Regions from separate parts of the Homo sapiens genome. Here regions 1 and 2 are each linked to region 3. Evidence: promoter capture Hi-C in 16 types of primary human blood cells and fetal thymus (Javierre and others, 2016). All regions are on one chromosome and are shown on one strand. Each heading gives the region's core, a stretch centred on a gene start or on the middle of the fragment in contact. The rest is flanking DNA. Distances are from core to core; before and after follow the strand shown.

Region 1 (4,198 bases), core at 1,204-3,703, 78 kb after region 3:
AGATGTGGGTAATGCCCTTATACTCATGTACTGATCAATACACTGCTGAGCTCTCAAGTGGGACGCTGCAGGTCTCTGGGGTTTTCTCTCCATGCAGCTCTTTCTTCTCTGGTGCTGTGTTCTGTGAATTCTAGCTGCCTGTGTCTCCCCAGACTATCAAATCTATCTTTTCAACTCAAGGAATCTGCCAGGCTCTGCCTTAGTTATTTTTCCTTGTAGCACATTCTACAAACTACTCAAGTCAGTTAGCTGGGGCACTTGTAGGACTCATCTCATTTGTTTCCTATCTCTTAGGGATTACTCTCTGTTTTCTGATGTTCAGGGTCTTGGAAACCATTTTTTTTTTTTTTTTTTTTTTGAGACGGAGTCTCACTCTGTCGCCCAGGCTGGAGTGCAGTGGTGCGATCTCGGCTTACTGCAAGTTCCACCTCCCGGGTTCACGCTATTCTCCTGCCTCAGCCTCCGGAGTAGCTGGGACTATAGGTGCCTGCCATCATGCCCGGCTAATTTTTTGTATTTTTTGTAGAGACGGGGTTTCACCGTGTTGGCCAGGATGGTCTCGATCTCCTGACCTCGTGATCCACCTGCCTCAGCCTCCCAAAGTGCTGGGATTACAGGCGTGAGCCACCATGCCTGGCCAATTGGAAACCATTTTTGTCCTTACGTTTTGTCAAAAAATGTTTTTTTTTTCCAATATAACCTGGTCCCTGTTACTCAATTCGTCTTGCGCTGAAGTGGAGAATTGAAGATGGGGCATCAAGCATTCATTTCATCTCTTATTGAATTCTAATAATAAAAGTACAGTTGACCCTTAAACAAAATGGGTTTGACCTGTGTGGGTCTATGTATATGTGGATTTTTTTCTTTTTTAAGGAGATGGGGTCGGCTGGGTGCGGTGGCTCCTGCCTGTAATCCCAGCACATTGGGAGGCCGAGGCAAGTGGATCACTTGAGGCCAGGAGTTTGAGACTGACCTGGCCAAGATGGCGAAACCCTGTCTCTACCAAAAATATAAAAAATTAGCTGGGCGCGGTGGCGCACACCTGTAGTCCCAGCTATCGGGGAGGCTGAGACAGGAGAATCGCTTGAACCTTGGAGATGGAGGTTGCAGTGAGCCAAGATCTTGCCACTGTACTCCAGCCTAGGTGACAGAGGAAGACTCCGTTTCAAAAAAATAAATATATAAAAATAAAAAAAATGAGCTGGGCATTGTGGCAGATGCCCATAGTCCCAGCTACTGGAGAGGATGAAGCAGGAGGATCACTTGAGCAGGAGATAGAGGCTGTGGTGAGCTCTGATTGCATCACTGCACTCCAGGCTGGGTGACAGAGTAAGAACCTGTCTCCGAAAAAAAAAAAAAAAAAAAAAGGCTGGGTGCAGTGGCTCAGGCCTGTAATCCCAGCACTTTGGGAGGGTGAGCCAGGCAGATTGCCTGAGCTCAGGAGTTTGAGACCAGCCTGGGGGACATGGTGAAACCCTGTCTCTACTGAAATACAAAAAATTAGCAGGGCATGGCGGCGTGGGCCTGTAATCCCAGCTACTTTGGAGGCTGAGGCAGGAGAATCGCTTGAACCTGGGAGGCGAAGGTTGCAGTGAGCCAAGATTGTGCCACTGCACTCCAGCCTCAGCGACAGAGCGAGACTCTGTCTCCAAAAAAAAAAATCAACTGTATATCTAATGGTACTGAAAAGAGAGAAACCACAAGACACTGGTATATATTGACATACACAAGTCACAGAGAATAGAAATGGACTGGATGTTGAAGCACAGTGATGCATATATTATTATTCAAGTCAACTCACTATTTAAAGCTAATTTCATAGGAAAATTCTACTTAATTCAGTCTAACATTATGTAAGTAACCAAGGAAGAGTTAACAGCTGTGTTACAGAAGTGAACTATAAGCTTGTGAATTCAGTATTTAAAAAAAAATTCCTTTTCAGTATTTTGTAATGCTTCAACATGCATTTTGAGCTTATTTCTGTTTATATTGTTGTAATGTTCCTCAGCAGTTAACATGTATTGAAGCATTTTTTTTTTTTTTTTAATGAGACTGAGTCTCACTCTGTCGCCCAGTCTGGAGTGCAGTGGCACTATTTCAGCTCACTGTAACCTCCGCCTCCTGTGTTCAAGTGATTTTCCTGCCTCAGCCTCCCAAGTAGCTCGAATTACAGGCACCCACCACCACTCCTGGCTAATTTTTGTATTATTAGTAGAGACGGGGTTTCCCCATGTTGGCCAGGCTGGTCTCGAACTCCTGACCTCAGGTGATCCACCTGCCTTGGCCCCCAAAGTGCTGTGATTACAGGTGTGAGCCACCATGCCAGGCCTGAATGTTTACTTTTACTTTTAATGTAAGTTTTAATTTAAATACTGATACTTGATTCAGTTATTGGAAAACTTTTTTGTTTTGAGACGGAGTTTTGCTCTTTTTGCCCGGGCTGGAGTGCAATGGCACGTTCTTGGCTCACTGCAACCTCCGCCTCTCGGGTTCAAGTGATTCTCCTGCATCAGCCTCCCGAGTACCTGGGATTATTGGCATGTGCCACCACACCCGGCTAGGCTAATTTTGTATTTTTAGTAGATACAGGGTTTCTCCATGTTGGTCAGTTTGGTCTCGAACTCCCAACCTCAGGTGATCCATCCGACTTGGCCTCCCAAAATGCTGGGATTACAGGTGTGAGCCACCAAGCCCGGCCTCTTTTTTGCTTTGTTTTTTTTTGAGACGGAGTCTCACTCTGTTGCCCAGGCTGGAGTGCAATGGTGAGATATCGGCTCACCACAACCTCTGCATCCTGGGTTCAAGTGATTCTGCTGCCTCAGCCTCCTGAGTATCTGGGATTACAGGAATGTGCTACCACACCTGGCTAATTTTTTGTATTTTGAGTAGAGACGGGGTTTCACCATGTTGGCCAGGAGTTCGACTCCTGACCTCAGGTGATCTGCCCGCCTCGGCCTCCCAAAGTGCTGGGATTATAGGCGTGAGCCACCATGCCCAGCCGGAAAGCTTTTAAGTGCCCAGAATAATTTGGGTGTGTGAATGCCTTTTTATCCATAGTAAATTTAATAAAATCTAATTATAGATCAAGTATTTCTGATGTAAATTTAGCATCTAAATTTAAGTGGCTGTGAAGTATAAAATAACAGTAGATACCAATGACTTAGAAGAAAAAAAAGCCTTGACATCTCTATTTCCTCGTCTCTAAAGGTGATAACACTTGCACTATGGTGATCCTACTAGTAATACATTTGGAGCCACGTTGTAAACTTCAGAGTTTGCACCATTATTATTATTTTTTTATTATTATTATTTTTTGAGATGGAGTTTCGCTCTTGTTGCCCAGGCTGGAGTGCAATGGCGCGATCTTGGCTCACTGCAACCTCCATCTCCCAGGTTCAAGGATTCTCCTGCCCCAGCCTCCCTAATAGCTGGGATTACAGGCATGTGCCACCACGCCCAGCTAATTTTGTATTTTTAGTAGAGACGGGGTTTTTCCATGTTGGTCAGACTGCTTGTGAACTCCCGACCTCAGGTGATACGCTTGCCTCGGCCTTCCAAAGTGCTGGGATTACAGGCGTGAACCACCATGGATGGCCTATTATTATTATTATTAGAGATGGAGTTTTGCTCTTGTTGCCCAGTCTGGAGTGCAATGGTGCGATCTCAGCTCACTGCAAACTCCACCTCCTGGATCCAAGTGATTCTCCTGCCTCAGCCTCCTGAGTAGCTGGGATTACAGGTGTGCGCCACCAGGCCTGGCTAATTTTGTATTTTTAGTAGAGACGGGGTTTCACCATGTTGGTCAGGCTGGTCTCGAAGTCCTGATCTCAGGTGATCCACCCGCCTTGGCCTCCCAAAGTGCTGGGATTATAGACTTGAGCCACTGTGCCTGGCCAAAGTTTGCACCATTATTATTATTATTATTTTTCTTTTGAGATGGAGTTTTGCTCTTGTTGCCCAGGCTGGAGTGCAATGGCGTGATCTCGGCTCACTGCAGCCTCCACCTCCCGGGTTCAAGCAGTTCTCCTGCCTCAGCCTCCTGAGTAGCTGGGATTACAGGCATGGGCCACCACGCCTGGCTAATTTTGTATTTTTAGTAGAGACGGGGTTTCTCCATGTTGGTCAGGCTAGTCTCGAACTCCCGACTTCAGGTGATCCTCCTACCTCAGCCTCGCAAAGTGCTGGGATTACAGGCGTG
Region 2 (4,020 bases), core at 371-2,870, 80 kb before region 3:
CGCTATTTGGGAGGCTGAGGTGGGAGAATGGCTTGAACCTAGGAAGCAGAAGCTGCAGTGAGCCAAGATCGTGCCACCGCACTTCAGCTTGGGCAACAGACCAAGACCCTACCTCAAAAAACAAACAAACAAACAAACAAACAAACAAAAAAACAAAAATGAAAAAACAGAGAAAAAAGTAGAAAGTCATGAAATAGAAATAAATGGGAAAATTAGAAATTCAATAGGAAAAAAACTCACCCTCAGAATGGAGTGATGCTGTGAGTTTCGATGGAAGCAGGTGAGGCTCAGGGGTTTGCATGAGCGTTCCCAACCTGGGTAGTGCAACTTGGGCAGACGGTCAGGAGAAGAGAGAAAACACAGACAGATGATGTGGGGAAAGATGAAGTGGGTGAAGGAAATTAGTCTTCGTGGCCCAATATGTATGAGGAAAGCTTTGAAATCATAGGCATCATGGAAAAATGTATGGAAAAAATACAAATTATCAAAATGAGTGAGAAAACCCCAGTAGACTTAAGAACTACAGGGAAGGAAATGAACAAGAGAACACAAGGTTTATCGTAAAATGCAGTGTCATTTTTTCAGGCAATGTGACTTTCTACACTGTCTAGAAAATTGAACTAACAAACTATAAGAATAATTAGGACAAATTCAACTATGTGGCAAGATCTACACAAAGCCCTCCTAGCTATCAGCAATGATGAATTATAACATAGAAAAGAAAAATGTCATTCATGATAGCAACACTGTTACAGCACATAGAGGGGAAGCCCAACAAAAAATGAGCAGTACCAATGTGGAGAAGACTATAAAGTGTAGCATGTATTGCACGAATAGAGATATACTGTGTTCCTCAATGGAAGATTGAACATGGTACAAATGTCAGTTTTCCCCTAAATTAGTGTAGAATTTAAATTTGGCATCAATTACAATCAAACAGGATTTCCGCTATAAAACTGACAAGCCAATTAGAAATAGAAAATGTACAAAAAAAGACAAGTGTGAAAAAGAGAAGAATGCAGCAGAGATTCTCTGTGATACACAAAATATGCAATAAATGATTTTAATTGAAACAATATATAAAAATAAACATATAGCCAGCCTGGACAACATTGGAAGACCCCATCTCAGCCTAAAATAATAACAATAATAGAAATCATCTAGGTGTGGTGGTGTGCACACCTGTAGTCTGAGCTACTCAGGAGGCTGAGACAGGTGGATCGTTTGAGCCCAGGATTTTGAGGCTACAGTAAGCTATGATCACGCCACCACACTCCAGCCTGGGCAACAGAGTGAGACCACCTCTAAAAAAATTTAAAAAAATAATAATAAATAACATTTTAAAAAAGAATAAATATATAAAATACTCACTTTAAAAAAGAACAGTGTCCTGAAATAGGCCCATGCATTTAGTAACTTCCTATAAACTAAAAGAATGTGAAAATATAGGCTATTCAAAAAATGGTTCTGGGTTGACTCACTATATTTGTAACATAAGATAGAGAGCTATCTCACAACACTCAAACAATCCAGATGATGTATTAATCTAAACCATTGTAAGAAAATTATAAAACCTTCAACTCATAAAAAAAGAAAATTATAAAACTTAAAGAAAATATGCAAAAATATAAGTGAAGAAAATATAAAAGGATATATATTGAGGTAGAAAAGTCATTTCTTTTTTGAGATGGAGTCTTGCTCTGTCGCCCAAGCTGGAGTCCAGTGGCGCAATCTCAGCTCACTGAAACCTCCCGCTCCCGGGTGCAAGCGATTCTCCTGCCTCAGCCTCTCGAGTAGCTGGGACTACAGGTGTATGCCACCACCCCCGGCTAATTTTTGCATTTTTAGTAGAGACAGGGTTTCACTACGTTGGCCAGGCTGGTCTCGAACTCCTGACCTCAAGTGATCCACCCACCTTGGTTTCCCAAACTGCTGGAATTACAGGCGTGAACCACCACACCTGGCCAGCAGAAAAGTCATTCTTAAGACATGAATTATAAAAGCTACAAATGAAAGATTAATACATTTGACCACATCAAATTTAAAACAAAAATGTTCTATAGAATAAAAGACACTAGGCAAAGCAGGATAGCTCACACCTGTAATCCCAGCATTTAGGGAAGTTGAGGCAGGCAGATTGTTTGAGTCCAGGAGTTCAAGATCAGCCTGGGCAATATACCATCTCTACAAAAACTAGCAAAAAATAGCTGGGCATAGTGGCATGTGACTATAGTCCCAGCTACTCAGGAGGCTAAGGTGAGAAGATAGATTGAGCCCAGGAGGTTGAGGCAGCAGCGAACTATGATGGCACCACTGCACTCCAGCCTGGATGACAGAGAGAGTCCCTGTCTCAAAAACAAACATACAAAGACACTAATTGCAAACCTAAAAGGCAAGTTACAGTGTAGAGGAAACATTGGCCACAGCTATACCAGGAAAAACAATCCCTGATACACGATTAAGGAAAATTCAACAACTAAGTAGGGAGAGGACATAAACAAGCAAATCAAAGAAGAGGAAGCACAGGCAACTGGGATCCATGAAAACATGCGTAATCTCAAGACACAAGACACATTTTTCACTCGTCAGTTTGGCAAAAACTGTGAATTATGAAAATGTTTAGGATTGGTGGGGTGTAAATAGGTGCAGCATTTCTGGAGGGCAATTCGTCCATAGCTACTAATGTCCCCAGTGTCTAGCAACATGGAAAAGTGTAAATAAATGATCCCTATTCGGCAGTTTAGAAATGAGGTCGTCCTATATGCATTAATATGGATTACATTGCTAAGTGGAAAAAGCATGTCACAGAAGCTTGAATCCATGGGACACTTTTCATGTCATCCATTTGTGTTAACTCACAGATGAAGCTCAAATTACACAAAAGTGAATTAAGCAGAAGCCCTCAGGAGGGACGTACACTGGAGGGTTGCCCTGTCATCTCCAGGGAGGGCCCCAGGCTTGGTAGCGGAGAGCAGGTGGCCTCACGAGGACTGCTACTGCATTTGAATGATCTCCCTGCTTTAATTGACAGAACAGGTGTGTGTATTGTGCATACAACGGATTCCTGTGCTGTCTTCTCAGGTCACAGAATCCCAGGGAGACATAAGGAAGAGGCGAGGACTCAAATGCTCTGCCAATCATTGGGAGTAACTTGTCCCTAGGGCAGAAGAAAGAGCTGCCCTCTTCTGTCCCTAAAAACATGTTTCTCTTCCTTAATAATATCACGGGGTGGGGGGGAGCAGGGAGAGAGAGACTGAGCAAGAGGGAGGCGCCGGAGTCCCTTTCTGATTCTGAGACAGTAATGCCCAGGTTTTGCACACCATGCTGTCCACTTTGCCAGCAGGACTGGGTGGCATGGCACTTCTGATAGAACGTCTGCTGTCTTTCTCCAGATTCCATTCTGTGCCCTTCTGCGAGGTCGAAGCTGGTGCTTCCTTGATCATACCAGCAGGTGTCAGCAGAATGTTCTGGACACCATCCCAGACGCTGGCTTCTTCCTCGTGGTCCTTCAGTGGTTTGTTGGAAACACTGAGGGCTGGGGTCGTCCAGTCAGGTTCCAGGTGAAAGTGTGCAGAATCACCTGCCGCCCGCCCAGCTCCTGACTCTGAAGTGCTGAGAGTGAACACAGCTTCAGAACAGATGAAAGGCACTGCTTCTCTCCCATCAACTCCACACACCCAGTGATAACAGAAAAGGGCAGTCCAGTCTTCTAGTCACCCTTCGATGTGATGGGGCAGCTGCAACCCAATTTTAGATGCTCCGAGAGGTTAAATCAATTCCCCAGGGCACACAGCCATAAACGGCAAAGACAGGACTTGAAGTCGAGACTGTGGTTCTGAATAGTGCCCTGTCTACACTACATGACCAAGAGGGCATTTCTGGAGGGCTTGAGGTTGCGTGTGTCAACCCCTGTGAATCGCAGGGTGACCAGGAGCAAAAGGCTTGCCACAGCTGAGACCCCCCAGGGTCTTGCTCTGGGCCTTCCCCTCCCTGGACCAGAGCAGCCCCATCTATGAAAAG
Region 3 (4,643 bases), core at 382-2,881:
TGAGAGTATGAACCTCCAAAGACTTCTGTGAGGGCTAGGTGCAGTCATATATGCAATGAACTCAAGTAAACAGCTGGCTGAGGAAACACCGGGACGCCTCCTCTGTGCTAAGCCCCATGCAGCATGCACACAGACACAGGCCCACCTCAGCCTCCCAAAGTGCTGGGGTTACAGGCGTGAGCCGCCTTTCCCAACCAATATTTTATATTTTTACACAAGTGACAGCATCCTATTCAGACTGCCCTATACTTTTTTTCCACTTAAAAGTATGTCTGGGCCAGACATAGTGTCTCACACCTGTAATCCCAGCATTTTGGGAGGCCGAGGCAGTGGATCGCCTGAGGTCAGGAGCTCGAGACCAGCCTGCTCAACATAGCGAAATCCCATCTCTACTAAAAATACAAAAATTAGCTGGGCACAGTGGTGTGTGCCGGTAATCCCAGCTACTCGGGAGGCTGAGACAGAATTGCTTGAACCTGGGAGGTGGAGGTTGTGGTGTGCCAAGATCGAGCCACTGCACTCCAGCTTGGGCGACAGAGCGAAATTCCAGCTCAAAAATAAATATATAAATAAACAAACAAACCAACTAAACCATCATTGCCCTCCCCAGCCCTCCCAGCCCAGAGACCCCCATCCCTTGTCAGCCATCCCCCCTTACCTTCTGGACAGGGACAAGTGTCCCTCATTTGGAAAAGAATTAAGGAGGGGTAACAGCAGACTAGGGAGGCCTGGGGTCCTCCACACGCCTGTGTGGGGTGACTTTGGCCCCCAGCAACAAGGCAGGCCTGAGGTCTGCAGAGGGAGGCAGCCCACTCCTCAGCCGGGGGCGTCTATCCTCCTCCTGGCCCCATCCCTCACCTGTGGGGGAGGCTAAGTGGGTGTCAGGGCCCTGTCAGAGGGTGAGCCACCCCCGGGGGTGCCCATCGGCCACCAGCCTCCCTTCAGTAGACACCCAGCCCAAGTGACAGCAGTGGCATGGCACTGCTGAGCACAGGGAGCCTCAAGGTCAGTGCCTGGCTCCTGGTATCCTCCGTGGTCCCCAGGACACCCCCACACAGAGGTCCCAGAACCCCCAAAGCTGGCACAAGAGCCCAGGAACACCCTGCCCAGCACCCTCCAGGTCCCTCTTTTAGGATCTGGGTGAGCTAAAGAAGCCAAAAGAAAGGCTGGGCGCGGTGGCTCACGCTTGTAATCCTAGCACTTTGGGAGGCCGAGGTGGGCGGATTGCCTGAGCTCAGGAGTTGGAGACCAGCCTGGGCAACACATTGAAACCCCATCTCTACTAAAATACAAAAAAAATTAGCCAGGTGTGGTGGCGTGCACCTGTAGTCCCAGCTACTCGGGAGCCTGAGGCAGGGGAATTGCTTGAACCCAGGAGGCAGAGGTTGCAGTGAGCTGAGATTGCATCACTGCACTCCAGCCCGGGTGACAGAGTGAGACTCCATCTCAAAAAAAGAAAAAAAAAAAAAAAAAAAAAAAAAAAAGAAGCCAAAAGAGGGTCTTCGGCCCAGCCCGCCCCTCCCCAACAGCCCTGGGTGTGGCAGGGAGCCTGACCAGTTCCCTCCAGCCTGCGTCATGGAGCCCTGGGCGTGGCTGCAGGGTTTAAAGAGCCGACCCACGTGCCCAGCAGCCTCCTCAGATCCGTTCTCTGCGCTGCCAGCTCAGGTGAGCCCTCGCCAAGGTGACCTCGCAGGTGAGCAGGCGTCCACTTTGGGGCTGCTGGGTGAAGGGGGTGGGTGCCCAAGAATTCTGAGTAATGAGGAGCCTGTTGAGGGGTCTGAGGACAGATATGGCTGCAGCAGCCGCTTGAAGGCCTCCTGCTTTGCACCCACTATCATATGGATGGTGGGTTGGGGGTTGGAGGAAACAGAAGCCAGCCCTTGGCTAAAGAATATATGAGCTGGTGGGGTATACCTCTGGTCCCAACTGCTTGAGATACTCAGGTGAGGAGATCACCTGAGCCAAGAGAGTTCAAGGCTGCAGTGAGCCGAGATCACGCCACTGCTCTCCATCCTGGGTAACAGAGCAAGACCCTGTCTCAAAAAAAAAAAAAATAGTAATAATAATAATAATAAAATAAAAAATGTGACCTAGAGTTGAGACCCTCGTATTCCAGGAACTCCAGGTTGGTGAAGGTAGAGAGACCAGTGAAGGCTGGGGGAAGCCAGCTTTGGAGACTGCTCCTAGCCCAAGAACCGATGTTCAGAAGCAGTGCCTAACAGTCTCTCCCTCCAGTGCCTCCCTCCCACTGCAGAAGGACCATGTGTTTATTTATGGATGTATTTATTTATTTATTTTGAGATGGAGTCTCCCTCTGTTGCCCAGGCTGGAGTGCAGTGCCAGGATCTCGGCTCACTGCAACCTCCACCTTCCAGGTTTAAGTGATTCTCCTGCCTCAGCTTCCCAAGTAGCTGGGAATACAGGCGCCTGTCACCACACTCAGCTAATTTTTGTATTTTTAGTATAGATGGGGTTTTGCCATGTTGGCCAGGCTGATCTTGAACTCCTGACCTCAGGTGATCCACCCGCCTCAGCCTCCCAAAGTGCTGGGATTATAGGTGTGAGCCACTGCGCCCGGCCTATGGATGTATTTATTGTAACAGGTTTTTAGTGCTTACTGTGTGCTAGGCATAGTTCTTAGGCTTGACAAATAGTAGTTCACGTAATTCCATCGCTATAACCTTATGAGGTTGCTACTATTCTGATGATCCTCCTTTTACAGGACACTGGTGAAGGAGCAGTGAGGAACCTGCAGAGTCACACAGTTGGTAAGTTGCTAAGAAGGGACCCAGCCCAGACAGCTGGCCCTGGATCTGTGATCTCATCAGGAGGCCAGAGCTGGGTACAGCAGATGATGACAATGGCTTCAGTATTGAAAACTTGACCACACTAGGCTAACAATATGCAGAGGGCTGGGAGGGGGCCTGCGCTCAAAGACTCAGCCTCCCTAAGGACAAGTAAATGGGGTCCTGGCTACTTCCAACCTGAGGGGGAAATGTCATACCACAGGAGGTCTATACTCTGAGAGCAGAATCTGGGTCTGCTGGAGTAGGGTCCCCTGCCAGGGCTGGCAGGGGAGGTCCTGGCTGCTGCAGTCATCTCATCCCAGGACTCAGCACTCCCTCCCTCCTCCACACCCTTGCTTTTGTGGAGGCTCTCTGGGAATTCAGACTGAGGGTGCTGGACTCTGGCCACCCCAGGCCCAGACCTTTGGGAACAATAGCCTGGGGCCTGATAACAATGCCCTTTGTGTGGGGTTAGGAAGGCAGGCTCCAGACCCTGACTTAGAATAGCAGCCACCTGACCCTGGGCATCTGATTACACCTCTCTAAGCTCCATTTTTTTTTTTCTTCTCTGAAATAGAGACAATAATAGTATCTTCCTCATGGGGAGGAGTAGGGGGTGGGTTTGTCGCATGGATTTTAACAACGCCTTCTACAGCACTTACTCTGTGCAGGCACAGTTTTGAGCTCTTAGCTTGTGCTTACTCAATCCACACAACTCCCCCAGGCCACCACCATCTCTAGATGGGAAGACAGAAAGTAGTTACTTTCCCAAGATCTCCCCACAAGCAAGTGTATCCTTGGGGTTTGTACACCTACTTTCACCATGGGGCTCTGCCTGCCCCCGCCCCTGCCTCCTCTCGCTGACCAATTGAGCTGTGAGCCTGGAGCAGATCCGTGGGCTGCAGACCCCCGCCCCAGTGCCTCTCCCCCTGCAGCCCTGCCCCTCGAACTGTGACATGGAGAGAGTGACCCTGGCCCTTCTCCTACTGGCAGGTGAGTCCTCCCAGTCTCCTGGGACCCTCTTGCATTCACCCCACCCACAAAGGCAGCAAAAGCCAGACAACATCTCCTTTGGGAGTCTGGTGTTCAATCAGCATGCTTTATTTAAACTGCCAATTTAGAGAGAAACATGAAGGAAATGACAGTACAGGTAGGATGAGAATATTGCAAAAAGGTCCTAATAGCTCCAGAGGAATTGAACCATGGAAAACATTAACCACCTGTGGCTTGAAGACAAAAGCAGGGTGGCACAGCGGCTCAGGCCTGTAATCCCAGTGTTTTGGGAGGCCAAGGTGGGAGGATCACTTGAGCCTGGGAGGATCACTTGAGCCTGGGAGGTCGAGGTTGCAGTGAGCTAGGATTGCACCATTGCACTCCAGCCTGGGTGACAGAGAGAGGTTCCGACTCATAAAAAAGACAAGCATTCCCTGTTTCTTCAGGGGGCAGAGACATAACAAACCATCCCAGTCAGCATGCACACAGGAGCATCAGGAAGCCTGGGACAGCAGGGCTTGGGCGGGGCCACACCCTGAGGCTGTGTGGGGCTGGGGAGGGCGTGAGGAAGGGAACTGGTGGCTCCAGGGTCACCCCACAACCTCCGGGCTGGGGTCCTGCTGTCTGGCTTACTTGGACACCAGTGTCATGAATTCCCACACATTTTCTCTGCTCCTCCCACACAGGCCTGACTGCCTTGGAAGCCAATGACCCATTTGGTGAGTGAGGCCCCCAAACAGCCTGCCCACTCTGCCCACATCTCCCCTCTGACACCCACATCCTGTCTCCTGGTTCTGGTTCTGAAGTCTTTTTGCCCCACTTTTTCTAGCCAATAAAGACGATCCCTTCTACTATGGTAAGAGC

What was found. Contacts are between HindIII fragments. The CHiCAGO score rates a contact against its expected background, and 5 or more counts as called.
Region 1: a fragment that was not itself captured here is called in contact with the fragment with the promoter of FXYD4 in region 3 in 1 of 17 cell types (erythroblasts); the score reaches 5.3 in erythroblasts.
Region 2: a contact is called between a fragment that was not itself captured here and the fragment with the promoter of FXYD4 in region 3, in 1 of 17 cell types (naive CD8 T cells). The highest score is 5.1, in naive CD8 T cells.

The regions. Positions count from the first base shown.
Region 1 is chr10:43,447,650-43,451,847 of GRCh38, forward strand. All of the region lies in intron 1 of ZNF487 (zinc finger protein 487), which reads left to right. Among named protein-coding and RNA genes, the nearest start is that of ZNF487, 13 kb to the left of the region's middle. The HindIII fragment of the contact is 1,102 bases long and covers 1,903-3,004 here.
Region 2 is chr10:43,289,957-43,293,976 of GRCh38, forward strand. No RefSeq gene overlaps it. Among named protein-coding and RNA genes, the nearest start is that of RASGEF1A, 25 kb to the left of the region's middle. RefSeq lists an enhancer at 3,741-4,020. The HindIII fragment of the contact is 2,377 bases long and covers 433-2,809 here.
Region 3 is chr10:43,370,005-43,374,647 of GRCh38, forward strand. It overlaps FXYD4 (FXYD domain containing ion transport regulator 4), which reads left to right and starts at 1,632. Exons shown (of 9, transcript NM_173160.3): 1 at 1,632-1,693; 2 at 2,723-2,768; 3 at 3,511-3,779; 4 at 4,466-4,498; 5 at 4,609-4,635. The coding sequence starts at 3,743. The HindIII fragment of the contact is 9,288 bases long and covers 1-4,643 here.